2 separate regions of the Homo sapiens genome follow, and region 1 is linked to region 2. The links are contacts of gene promoters, found by promoter capture Hi-C in blood cells and fetal thymus (Javierre and others, 2016). All regions are on one chromosome and are shown on one strand. Each heading gives the region's core, a stretch centred on a gene start or on the middle of the fragment in contact. The rest is flanking DNA. Distances are from core to core; before and after follow the strand shown. Region 1 overlaps GLDN (gliomedin). Region 2 holds the start of CYP19A1 (cytochrome P450 family 19 subfamily A member 1).

The links. Contacts are between HindIII fragments. The CHiCAGO score rates a contact against its expected background, and 5 or more counts as called.
Region 1: a fragment that was not itself captured here is called in contact with the fragment with the promoter of CYP19A1 in region 2 in 1 of 17 cell types (M1 macrophages); the score reaches 5.6 in M1 macrophages.

What each region holds. Positions count from the first base shown.
Region 1 is chr15:51,367,833-51,374,441 of GRCh38, forward strand. All of the region lies in intron 1 of GLDN (gliomedin), which reads left to right. Among named protein-coding and RNA genes, the nearest start is that of GLDN, 29 kb to the left of the region's middle. The HindIII fragment of the contact is 7,832 bases long and covers 1,024-6,609 here.
Region 2 is chr15:51,333,293-51,340,052 of GRCh38, forward strand. It overlaps CYP19A1 (cytochrome P450 family 19 subfamily A member 1), which reads right to left and starts at 5,304. Exons shown (of 10, transcript NM_000103.4): 1 at 5,203-5,304. RefSeq lists promoters at 5,229-5,806, 5,229-5,547, an enhancer at 5,468-5,547 and cis regulatory regions at 5,499-5,516, 5,581-5,610. The HindIII fragment of the contact is 2,086 bases long and covers 4,138-6,223 here.

The sequences.
Region 1 (6,609 bases), core at 3,690-6,189, 34 kb after region 2:
ATAGTGTGAAAGGCTTGTGTATTATTGCCCTACAGACCAGGCCACATCAATGGTCTCTGGTTTTGCTGTGATGTTGATAGAGACAGGAAGGGGATAGCCATGTCTCAGGAACCCTAACTAGATAATCCTAGCATCTCCAAGGTCCTGTTTTCTAGGGATTATTGGAGTAGCTGCAAAAATAAAATTATCCTAAACAAGCAGGCACAAAGAGAAGCAGGTATCCCCATGAGAGATTTTCAGTTTCTGTAAACAAAGTGACTGCCTGTCTGAAAGGAATAATATCATTGCTTGGGGAGCACATTCCCTTCCCATTTGAGCAAGTAATCAATGCTGAAGTCTTTTTTGAGTACCTACTATGTGCTTGATGCCATTCTGGTGCTGAGAAAGGGAATGGATAAGTGAATGTGGCAAACAGAAAAAGGACAAAATAGCCTCTACTATTCAGAGTCTAGTTGAGAAGTCAGCGTAACAGCGAAAAAGTGAGCCAGTGACTGGCCACGCTGCTGGGCACAGAAACGGGCAGTCAGTAGGGACTGGGCTTTTTGGAAGGCTGAGAAAGATTCTGCTGGACTCTGCAGATCCCTGGCAGGATGAACTGATAGAACACTTGCCCCCCAGGCCGCTGATGTGGGATGGCAGAAGATGGCTGGACAGGCTCACTTGAGCTGTTAAATGCCTGCGGCCCAACACGAGCTGGGGCCTAGGAGTCACACCCCAGAATTTCACTGTCGTGTTTCCAAGCAGCTGCATACAAGATATAAAAATTAGGTCAAGTTAGGATTTTAAGAGTTTATTGTGCATACAAAGAAATGTTCATGAACTAAGAGACCTCAAACTGGAAAGTGGCAGAAAGTCTCAAATTTACAGCAGTTACAGCTCAGTTTCAAGAGCATAAAGGAGGAAGCGTTTTGGCCTGTTTCAGGATTGGATGTCATATATTCTTTCTTAAGGCATATGACTATGTAAGCTGATTTGCCTATATCCGTTGGTTTAATTTCATTGAATCATGCTGATAAGATGAAAAGCTTACTGAGTGTTCTGTTTATGTTGAAGGTTTATGTTTTGGGGGGCAGGGAATCAGTAAGAGCTAAGTTTTGGTTATGTGGCTATGAGTAATTGGCCTTGGGTACTAAACTGTGGCCTCCAGTTTTATTTATTTACATTTAACAAAGGCAAGACCCACATTCCCGTTGGTGTTTGCAGAGTGCCCTCACCAAGTCTTGGCCCCTGTGTGAATTCCTGCCTTTCCCAGAAATGAGTCCAGGGTGTCTGACCTCAGCTTCAGATCCCATGAAGGATTCTTCTAACATCTGCGATCTAACCCTCCAGTGACAAGCAGGTGGACCACCACATTCATAGCCCCATCTCCCCAGTCCAAGCAATCTCAGCCAATGGTAAGGTGAATTATCATCTCCTGGAGCTTTTTCTAACAGGATCATTTGCATGCATATAATAACAGCAGTTTGCATAATTAAGGAGAGTCATACAAAGTATTCAGTTTTCTAAGAGATATGGAATTTAAGTTACAAAATAGATCAGACCTGGAAGATGACTTAGCATTTAAACAGTGTTCCAGCCAGCAAACTGTAACCTGTGCTTGGAGAACTTCAGAGAAACCATGACAGGCCTCATTGTTTTAGTAACACACAAACCAGAGTAGCTGATGATAATGAGCAGGTTTGCTCTCTTACTTTTGTGTGAATTCATTCTGAGAGTAAAAGGTGAGAGAAAGGGAGTTCAAGAGAGCAGCCAGCCAAACACTGTGAGGTTTCGAGTTCCAATGAGCAGTAGCAGCTTACCACATTTAGCTCTATTCATTCTGATGAGAAAGACATGCTTTTGATTTAAGCCTTTTACCTACACACAGAAATTGGCACATTTTAAATTACACATCTATTAGTAAAAATTTAATATCCTGTTTATATGAAAAGTACACTAAAGCAAAAATCTGTGTTTCAAGTTGAATTCAGACAATTCCTTTTGCAAAGCCTGAGCAGTACAAAAAAGTAGCAGTAGCTCACGTCTATAATCCCAGCATTTTGGGAGGCCGACACAGGAGGATTACTTGAACCAAGGAGTTCAAGACCAGCCTAGATAACATAGAAAGATTCTATCACTACAAAAAGTAAATAAATTAGCCGGGCATGGTGCCGCATGTCTGTAGTCCCAGCTACTTGGGAGGCTGAGGCAGGAGGATCTCCTGAGCCTGGGAGGTTAAAGCTGTAGTGAGCCATGTTCATGTCACTGCACTCCAGCCTCAGTGACAGAGCAAGCCACTGTCTCCAAAAAAGAATAAAAAAGAAAGTAGATGAAGGGGAAATAGTCTCAGCTCTGGAAGCAAGCTAGGTGAGCCTAAACCAGCTACTCCCTGCCTTCTTTGGGCATCAGCTTTCTCATCCCTCCTCCCCACATCCTCTGAGTGTTTCTCACCACCTCTTACCCAGCATCCTCTGATGGGATCAGAGTCTGAAAATCATCTGTCATGTCCAACCCTCTCATTTTACAGACAAATAACTAAGGTCAACCCCACCTGTTTACCCAGGGCAGCTCCATTTTTATTTGCTTTATATTTTGGGATTTGGTGCTTATATAAGGAAAATAAAAGTCTTATGGCTAATGAACAATTTGAAAATCACTGGACTTTACAAGAGTTCTAGTTCATTCTGTTCATTTGCCTAGAAACAACAGAGATCTGTCCAAGTAATTTCAAGTGATGGGGGTAATCGTGAGAACATGATGTTTGGGTTCACACAACACTAACATGCTTTCCATTCTCTCTGGATTACTAAAAACACAGAAAAGTAAAAAAAAAAAAATCACTTATTATTCCAACATACCTTTACAACCATCTCAATTAAAAAGTGAGAAAAAAAAATCTGCCAGGTACAGTGGCTCACGCCTGTAATCCCAGCACTTTGGGAGGCTGAGGTGGGCAGATCACCTGAGGTCAGGAGTTCCAGACCAGCCTGGCCAACATGGTGAAATCTCATCTCTACTAAAAATACAAAAATTAGCTGGGTGTGGTGGTGTGCACCTATAGTCCTAGCTACTTGGAAGGCTGAGGCAGGAGAATTGCTTGAATCTGCCTCAAGCCGGAGGTTGCAGTAAATCAAGTTGGTGCCACTGCATTCCAGCATGGGCAACAGAGTGAGACTCCATCTCAAAAAATAAAAAATTAAAAAAAAAAACCTATCCCCTTCTTATTCCCTAGTCTCAGTCTCTAGGGGGAAGAATATCAGTTGTTTGGTTTCATGAACCTCCCAGCTTTTTTGTGTACTTATACAAAAACATCTAGGGATTATTTATCAACCAAAAAGTTGTGTTGCATTATGTGGCTTGGGCTGCATTTTGCTTTCGTCACTTAACACCATGCCAAGGCTGTCTTTCCAATAGTACATATAGATCTATGTCATCCTTTAAAATTTGTTCAACAAGACCCTTATTGACAAACCTTTGCATGTTCTGCCACACAGTGTTGCATTGAGCATTTTTGTCCAGATATCCTTGTATACTCTTCCAAGTGGGATTCCTAATTTGTAGCATTTTCTTTTTAACAGATACTGCCAAGTTATGTCCCATCTCTGTTTAGTTTGAATTAAAACAAGCTCAAGCCATCTGATGCCAGGTCAGCAAGAAGTCTGTTCTTTTTCTCCTGGGGCCTCTTCCTTGGCCAAGATCCCCAAGAGTTCTGCTAATCCAATGAGAATAGTTCCCTTTTCAGAGAAAAAAACTGGAAAAGCTGGTCAGGCTGCCAGTAGGGCCCATTTGGGCTATCTTTTCCCCTAACGCTATTGTATTAGTCCACTTTCTGTTTATTATAACAGAATACCTGAAACTGGATAATTTATAAGAAAAGAATTTTTTTTTCAAGATGGAGTCTCACTCTGTCACCCAGGCTGGAGTGCAGTGGCTCGATCTCAGCTCACTGCAACCTCTGCCTCATGGGTTCAAGCGAGTCTCCTGCCTCAGCCTCCCAAGTAGCTGGGATTACAGAAGCATGGCACAATACCCAGCTAATTTTTTTCTATTTTTAGTAGAGACAAGGTTTCCCCATATTGGCCAGGCTGGTCTTGAACTCCTGACCTCAGGTGATCCACCCACCCTGGCCTCCCAAAGTGTTGGGACTATAGGCATGAGCCGCCGCGCCTGGCCAGGAATTTATCTTTTACAGTGATAGAGACTGAGAAGTCTAGGGTTGATGGGCTGCATCTCGTGACAGCCTTCTTGTTGGTGAGGATTCTCTGAAGAGTCCCAAGTGAGACAGAGCATCACATAGCAAGGGATTGAAGTGTGCTCACTCAGGACTCTCTTCCTCTTCACATGAAGCCACCAGTTCCACTACCATGATAACCCATTAATCCATGAATGGATTAATCCATTCTTGAGGGCAGAGCCCTCATGATCCAATAACCTCTTAAAAGGCCCCCTTTCTCAATACTGCCACATTCAGGATCAAGTTTCAACATGAGTTTTGGAAGGGACACTCAAACCATAGCAGCTACCAAACGTTCAATGCTGAAAACAAGTCGCCATGCAATGTAATATGTCCCTGTCCGTTGCTGCATTGATCTTCCCACCTGGGAGATGAACCTGATGGGCCCCATTGTTTCTTCTGGGAGATAATTCTCACTCCTCAGTGATGCTTACAGCCAACAGGGCATTCATCCTGAGCTCTCGGGGCTACTGCTTATTATTTTGCACTCAGGTTGACAGCCCATCGTTCCCACTAAGTCTGTCCTCCATGCTAGCGTGGCTGGGTTGGACTTTTTCCTGTGCTTCACCCACCCTCTCCCCAGCACCACCAGATTCTCATATCATGAACTGATTAGCAATTTATTGTCATCTTCTCTCAGAGAAACTCTTCCTTAGAGACGGTTGATGTGCTTTCCCACTTGAACCACTTCTCAGCAGAGAAGTTCCAGGCCTGGGACCGGGCACTATTCTAGACACAGGGTACCTTAGTCTCTTTTGTGCTGCTATAATGGAAAACCACAGATAGGGTAATTTATAATGAGCAGAAATTTATTTCTCATAATTCTGGAGGCTGGGAAGTCCAAGATTGAGGTACCAGAATCTAGTGAGGGCCTTCTTCCTGCATCATTCCACAGCAGAAGACAAAAGGGCAAGAGAGTGAACTCAAGCCCCCTTATAATCAGCATTAATTCATTCATGAGGGTGGAGTTCTGCAGACCTAAATGTCCTCCTTTAGGCCCCACCTCCCAACACTGTTATGTTGGGGATTATGTTTCCAACACATGCATTTGGGAGGACATATTCAAATCATAGTACAGGAGATGCAGACAAAACAAAGAAGTTTTTCTGCTCTCAAAATGCTTCCTTTCTCTGGGGAGCAGGAGTAGGTAATAAATATGTAAGCAAGATAATACAGTCATTCCTCAGTATCTGTGGGGGATTGGGTCCAGGACACCTGTGAATACCAAAATCCGCACACACTCAAGTTCCTGACGCTGGTCTTGTGGAACCCAAGTATATGAAAAGTCAGCCACCCATTTCTGAGAGTTTCGCATCCCTCAAATACTGTATTTTCAATCCATGTTTGGTTGCGGATGCAGAACCTGTGTATATGGATAACTGACTATATTTACTGATAAAAGTTCGTGTACAAGTGGACCCACACAGTGCAAACCTGTATCATTCAAGGTCAACTGTACTGAATAATGATAAGTGCTACAAAGACAAAAGGCCAGATGAGGTGATGGGGAGTGGCTGTCTGGGCTCCCTTCAGTTGAGAGACAGGAAAGCCTGACTTGAGGCATCAGTGAAGCTCACCATGTAAAGATGTGTGGCACAGCACGCTAGGCAAGGCCAAGACCAGCGACGAGGCCAGTGCGACTGGAGCAGAGTGACAGTGATGGGCAGGGAGGGGGAGAGCACTGGGAGATGCCCTACAAGGTGCGGGGGCAGGGCCACAACATGGATGGGTCATGCCTAGTACCCCCAGGACAATGACCTCTAAGGACTCTTCCAGCTTCAACCTTCTCAAGACCTCCCTCAAGACTTAAGAGGCCCTTAATGCAAAATATGACTCCTTAATTTGACCATCTAGATTTTGTGACTTTCAATTGGGAGTTTTCTTATTTTGATTCCAATTTTTAATCATTATGACCAGAAAAAAGTTTCTAACTTTATGGCCACACCTTTTCATATCATATATTTCATCTCAATACAATCTTATATACACAGCCCAATTTCGTTAAAAGACTATTCTTGAGTAAAGATTAACATAATTTACTGGTAAATATCTCAATTGACATTTAGCATACAAATGAAATCAAAAGGTCAGGAAATGAAAACTGCTTCATAGTTTTTACAGAAGCTGCACCTGCCCCAGATCAGTGATTAGTACCAAACAGAAAGGCTAATTTTCCCTATTGTTGCTTCTGTTGTTTCCAACCACCCCTTCTGCTGTGATCCCCCAGGCAACAAATGAAGCCATTGTGAAGTCTTTTCTGGTCCTCTCAATGGGCAATTACACATTTTTTAAGACAATAAATTTTGTTCCTAGTGCAGCTGATTACATTCATTTATGAAAATGACTAAAGGCAGTGAATCAATTTTTTTTCTGTCTGGTGATGTTAAGATAATCAC
Region 2 (6,760 bases), core at 4,054-6,553:
AATCCCCTATCAAGTCACTGGCGGGGAGACTCTCATTTTCCTGTTTTCTCACATCTCCCAGGCTCAGGAGTAGAGATAGACTCAGCACACCTGTACAACTCCCTTACCTCATCCAGCCAGATCCATCTGCCAGGATACTCACTGATGCCCAGATACTGGTGCCCTCTTATGATTACAGAATCGGGGGTGGTTTGGAGACCATGTGTTTACTCATACAGCTTTAAGAAAGTAGCACATGTTTAGGGTCCACAGTTTGACCTAAAAAGTCACATTTTCTAGAACTCAGCACTTTCTTGTTTCATTTGGAAAGGTGGTTTTAAAGGCTGAAGTTGGCCCTGGTGGAGGTCAGAGATCATACGTGGTTTCCATAGTGACAGAAGCCAGTGCAAGTCTTGGCAATAAAAGGTAAGCTTCTCTTAGCCGGGGCCACTCCTCTGGTCCCTGGCTTGAGTCTCCAGGCTCAGCAGATGGGGTGTCATCTTCTCCAGGCTTAATATTGGCAGGAATCCCTTTTGGTCACTCCCAACCAGTCTCTCTGGAGAGGTGAGGCATATCTATTCTAGCTTGTTACTCTGCCTTTGCAACCCAGGAATGAAAGGTCTTAGGCTATCAGGCCCCAAATTCACTTTTTTTTTAGGACCTATATGCACCTATTCACTGCAGAGATGACAGTTCCCCTACATGGTTTTTAGGAAATCATGTTCTTACATCATTGATCTCTTAAAATCCTCCTTAATCTGCTAGACCAGGCTTGGCTTTCTTTCCTGACTAGCTTACACATTCTAGCATTCAGTGTCTGCTCCAGGTTTGTTTTTAAGCCTTGGAGCCAAGTGCCAGTCTGAGCTGTTTTCCACTCCATCACTTTGAATCATTTCCCTGCTCTATTGTTTCACTTCCTGTCCATCATTTTGAGCATTCCTCAGTGGCCCAAGATGGGGGCCAAAAATTTCCTACTTTTGATAAACAGGGCATGGGTGAACGTTGATGAGGTTTCAACAATGTGACCTTGGGCAGATCACTTAAACCTCCTGAGCCCTGACTTCCTCATCTGTGAAATGCTTATAAAACCTGCCCTGCCCCGTTCACAGGCTTATTATGGAACTCAAATGACATGAGAAAGCACTTTGAAAACTGAAGTGCTCTACACATGTAAGGCTTTGTTTTATCTTTCAAAAACAGTGGCTCGAGTTCCATAAGTGGAGCTTTGCAGTATTAACTTACTTCTGTGGATTTTGCAGTTTCAAATTCATGAGCCATTCTCATGATTGCACAGAATCCACTCTTAGAGCTTCCTTTACATTTTCATTGTTTCTGAAAACAATCACTTTTTCATTTATTGAAAGGCCATCACTCCAGGTGAAAAAGGAAAAGATTTCTTTCTACAGCCTGTCACGGTTACAATTTAAAGCCTACTAATGTTGGAATGGCAGATTCAGGTGGTTGATGTGGTAGATGTGGAGATGTGGGGACCTGAGGGTCCCCCTTCAAGAAAGGACTGACTGCCTGGCTGCAGAGATTAAGATTAAAGCATGCTTCAGCTGCAGAGAGCCACCTGGCCCCAGGTCATACCTTCCCAGGGCATCCCACATCTGTCCTGTGACTGAGTGAGGTAGGTAAAAGCCCAGTCACTCTGGCCTGACACAGGACACTCTGATGAGCAATACACAATCCAGAGCTTCCCAGTGGGTTGGCTGAGGCTTTGCAGGGTTGGACTGTGCTGGATTTCTCCCTCTGCCCAATCCTGCTTCTCCTTCTTTCCTTCATAGGTGCTGATCCCTAATAACCATTTTGTACTCCAAATTCCATCTCAGCACTTGTTTCCAGAGAATCTGATCTGTGACAATTGGGTACACTACACTAGAAAGGTGGAGTGGGGTGGGGTGGGAGGGCATGTTTGTTGCAAAGAAGGAGAGAAAACAATGGGAAGTGGGGATTTGAAATGGCATCACCTTCACAACCACAGACAGCTCCACGTCAAACAATGAGTGGGCAACTCAAAGGTCTAAGACACTGCTACTACGATAGGCGGAAATCTGTTGTTACCAGCCCGACTTGGACCAAAATCTCACAACGGAAGCAATATCATCTATTCTTATTCCCAACCCTAGAGATAAGCAGATTTGGTGCTCTTACCTGGAAGCACCAAAGGCTAACTTCCAAGAAAATGCTAACAACACACTGTGTTTTATACAAAAACCCCTACTAGTATCAAGATTGGCTAAATGATCTAAATTTAGTCACGGTTCTGTTTTTCAACTACCTTTTTACATACAGATGAAAGAGAAAGTTACATTTTCTAGAACTCAGCACTTCCTTATTTCCAGGTGGTTTTAAAGGCTGAAGTTGGCCCTGGTGGAGGTCAGAGATCATACATGGTTTCCATAGTGACAGAAGCCACTGCAAGTCTTGGCAGTAAAAGGTAATCTTTTAAAATGAAAATCTGTCATCCATCTACCGACTCCTCCCCATCCCACACACACGTAAAACTCCTCATTTGTTTCCCATTGCTTTTACAGTAAAGGCCTCAGCCCTACAAGGAAGGTCCCACCCACAGAGTCTGGTCCCTGCCTTGGTTACAGCCTCATTTCACTCCCTCCTCCTTGCTCCTGACGCTCCATGTGGCACCGCATTGGCTTCTTACGGTTCCTCAAATAAGCCATGCCATCTCCTGCCATAGGGCCTTGAACGTGTTGTTCCTCCTCTCTGCAATTCTCCTCACCCCTATCTTCGCCTAGTTTACAACTCAGCTTCAGGTGCCAACACAAGCATCCTTTTCTCAGGGAAGCCTTCCCTGAACCACACATCCAACTCTAGGACAGGCTCTTCAGTGATATGATCTCAAGGAACTGCATTCCTTTCTTCCAGAGCATTTGTCTCGTGGCCGCATTTAGAATTGCACCCTCATGTCTAATATTGTTTGGTAAATCTGTCTCCCCACTCCAGGCTTCAGGAATGATGCCTGGCTTTGCTCTCCATGCTATTCCTGGCTCCTGGCACAGTTCCTGGCAGATAGTAGGCACCCAATTACCATTTGCTGAGTAAATGAATACATGAAAGAATAAAAGAAAGAAAAAAGGGAGAATTGCTGACTTTGGTTGGATGGTGTGAAGTTTCTTGGGGTTTAACAGTAGGAATGGGGAGTTAAAACCATAAGAGGCTGAGTGGAAGATGCATGTGGTGACAACTTTTAGGGTGGCTCTCTCCCTAATCACCAGTGTGGTGGAAGGGTGGTGGGGCAGTAAAACCATCAAAAGTCACAGTGTAGCTGTCAATCTCATCACTGAAGACAAGAATACCCAAGTGCCAGGCCAGGAAAATTATTTACTTCACAATCAGGAAGAAATGCTGTGGAACTAAAGTTGGGGTATATTCTTGAATTTGATTTTATTCTCCAGAGCCCTAAAGTTAACCAGCTGGAATCATTTTTAAGGACCATTCTATTTAACTTTTGGAAATGAAGCATCTGCCTTTTAATGGAAAAACTACTTCTCATTGTAAAGATAGCACACAATGTTCTTGGCTGCTTTGGTCTCCAAAAAAAGGGAATTGAGATATCTCCCTGTGTCCGCATTATATCCTGAGCCTCCTGTGTCAACAAAACAGGCCAGATTGATAGCTTTTTTTTTTTTTTAATAATAAGTAAAAAGTAGCAGCCCATTCTGTGAAGTATCAGGCAGGGCAGGCTATGCAGGCATATCTGCCTCTCAAGAAATCTCAAGAGGCTTAGGGATTCACACTGAAAGGCTCCATATAACCAACCTCAAAGCCATGGTATTCAGACGAGAACCCAAGTTTATCGTGCATTCAAAAGTTCTGTTCCTCAAAAAGCATCTACAAAGTGTGATTAGCTAATGAATCCATTAATCAAATATTCCTACTTGGCACAAGTCCCTGCTGTGAGAGGACAGTTAAGATAGGTCCCTGCCTTAAGAATATTGTAACCCAACTGAAGAAATAGGATGTGGAAGAACTAAGATGTCGATTAACAGCACAAGGCACAGAAGAACTAAAGTGTCAACTAACAGCACAAGGCACACACAGTGTAAGTCTCAGCCAGTTCATATGGCCCATATCCAACAATACCAACCCGTGTTGAACATTTATTATACAAGTGCTTTACAAGTATTTTCTTATTAAAGCTTCACAACCCTATGAAATAGATACAATTACAGTCTCTTTAAAGAACTTGAGTAGCATATCTAAAGTCATGCAGTTAAAAAACAGTTTCAAGGTCAGGTCTGATTCCAAAGCCCAGGTGCATAACCACAGAGCCCCTGCAGCTTGTAGAGCTCACAGTGCTTGGGACTGGCCTAGGAAGTCAAGGCTAGATGAGGAAGGGTACTCGGAGTTAGGCCTTAAAGTGGGCAACACTGAAATAGGCCAGTGATGGAGATAGGTCACTGTGTGGCACTGCGGTGGAAAGAGGGTTGGAGAGAGAAGATAGAGGAGAAGAGGAAAGAGGGCAGAGCATGGCAGCTGCTTGGGCACAGCCACTTTAGGGTGAGAGATGAGTGAAGATGTCTACCTTGTAGGCCATATCAACATGTCCCCCTTCTTCTGTGAAAAATGCCATCATCCCACACAGGAAGAGTTGGAGAGGGATCTGACAGTGGAGTCTGGTAGGAAAGGAGTCTGGCTTTTCATTTGCGCTTCCTTCTGCCCCTCTTGCCCCAGAGCAATATCCCAGGCTTTCCACCAACCCAGCCCACGGGGTGGCCATGCTACAAGCCTTTTGAGTCCTGCATCCCAAGAGGGGCAGCTTCTTGGCCTGAAGTTGTCTAATAGAGCCTGCCTGGCTCCAAGCAGGCCTCATCTCTGCTCTGTCTACTGGATCTGGGCTCTGAACTGGGGTGGGAGGTGGGGAAATGGGGAGGCTGGTTCAGGCTACCACTTCCTCTCCTCACCATTGGATAGCCAGCCTTTCAAGGAAAGTAGGGGGCCAGTTCTGTGGCATAGAACAGTATAGTTCTTAGGCCCTCCTATTTCAGAAAAACACTCAAGCAGTGTTTTCCCTCTGCTCTCACACCACGACAACAGTCATCAACACAGAAGACTTCTGCGACCAAATGTAGGGGATTTTCCCCCACACACCAAGCAGCGGGCACCAGCTGGGTGTCCTCCAACTCAGTTCCAACACTATCTACCTGGAAAGAGTGTCTGATCCCACAGGTTGAGGGCTCAGTCAGATTAAGAGATACATACGCGACGTCTGGAAGATCCCGAGCACAGGACCTTCCGTCCTGATAGGATAAGTTCTTCTTCACCTTCCTGTTTGCCTCCACGTGTTCAGCCCTCCAGAAACTCCCTGAACCCTGTCCTTTGGGCCTTTTATGGAGATTTCATTTGTTGTCCATGACTGAAGCATGTGATTGAACAAAATGTGATTGGACAAAAAGGGTATGATCTAATCTCAGCAAGGTCTGTCTGTCCAGATTCTTCTTCCTCTCTTTGTGCAGCATTCCTTCCTCCAGGGTATGGGGCATGACCTCCTCTGGAATGAGGGTCTTATGACCCACAATCAGATTATAGAGTCCCGCCTTGGGTGGATGAAAGGAGGGCAAAGAAGGCCAGAGAAATATTCTGTTTCCTGAGGCCTAAAGCACCTCTACATTATAGCAAAAGACCTCAGCAAGTGTCATGGGAGTTATGGACAAGAACCATGGACAAAAATCTATATACATGTAATCATAAGATCACACCCCCCACCACACACCACATTGTTCTACATAGAAGTGCCTTCACTATACAGCTTTTCATTTATTCATTCGTTCATTCACTCATTTATTCAACGGGTAATAGTGAATTCCAAATCAGGAACTGTGCTATGTGTTGGGGGTGACATGGCCCCTAGCCTCAGGAGGCTTCTATTCCATGGTTAATGGTGGGTATTGCTGAGAGATGATCAGTCAACAGTAACTGCAATGAATGTTAGGATAAAGAGAAGCCCAGAAGGCTCCACGGTGTTCCAGCTGCTCACAGGGTAATCTGCCTGTCTTTTTTACTTCCGTATCTCCAATGCCCATTATCATACCAGGCACAGGAAGTGCTCAGTTAAGTGTTTACTGAATTAAATGAAGATCTGAATGATGCTGAGTGTCAACCCTCCCTCTCAGTGGCTCCTCCCCATTGGCCCTAAACCTGATACCTGGATGAAAAGAGATAAGGATACATGACAGTTCTTCAAGTAGGTCACAGAACGTTTGAGTTGGGAGGAAATGGACAAAGCTTTTTACATCACTGCCATCCCCTCCCAGTCATCATATCCCCACAGTGGGGGTACTTTATGAAACACTTGGACCTTCATGCTTTCCTAATTTCTTCTTATCCTGTATGCTCTTCTAAGAATACTGAAGTTGGTCAATGTTCCTATTAAAACTCAGGAATCTAAACTTTGACTCAGAATTTCTGATTGAGATGTCACTTCAGTTTCCTTGTGCATTCTCAGAGGCTCTACCCTGGCTCACCCTGGAGAGTAGGGGGCAAGAAGTCTGATACTACTCAGCTTTCTCTCCTGTGCCAAAAAATCCTACCTGCAAGAATTGGTATGTGTATTAGTCCATTCTTGCCTTGCTATAAAGAAAAGCCCGAGACTGGGTAACTTACAAGAAAAGAAGTTTAATTGGCTCATGGTTCCACAGGCTGAACAGGAAGCATGGCAGCACCTGCATCTGGGGAGGCCTCAGGGAGCTTTTACTCATGGAGGAAGGCAAAGCAGGAGCAGGAACATCTCACATGGTGGGAGCAGGAGGAAGAGGGGCCA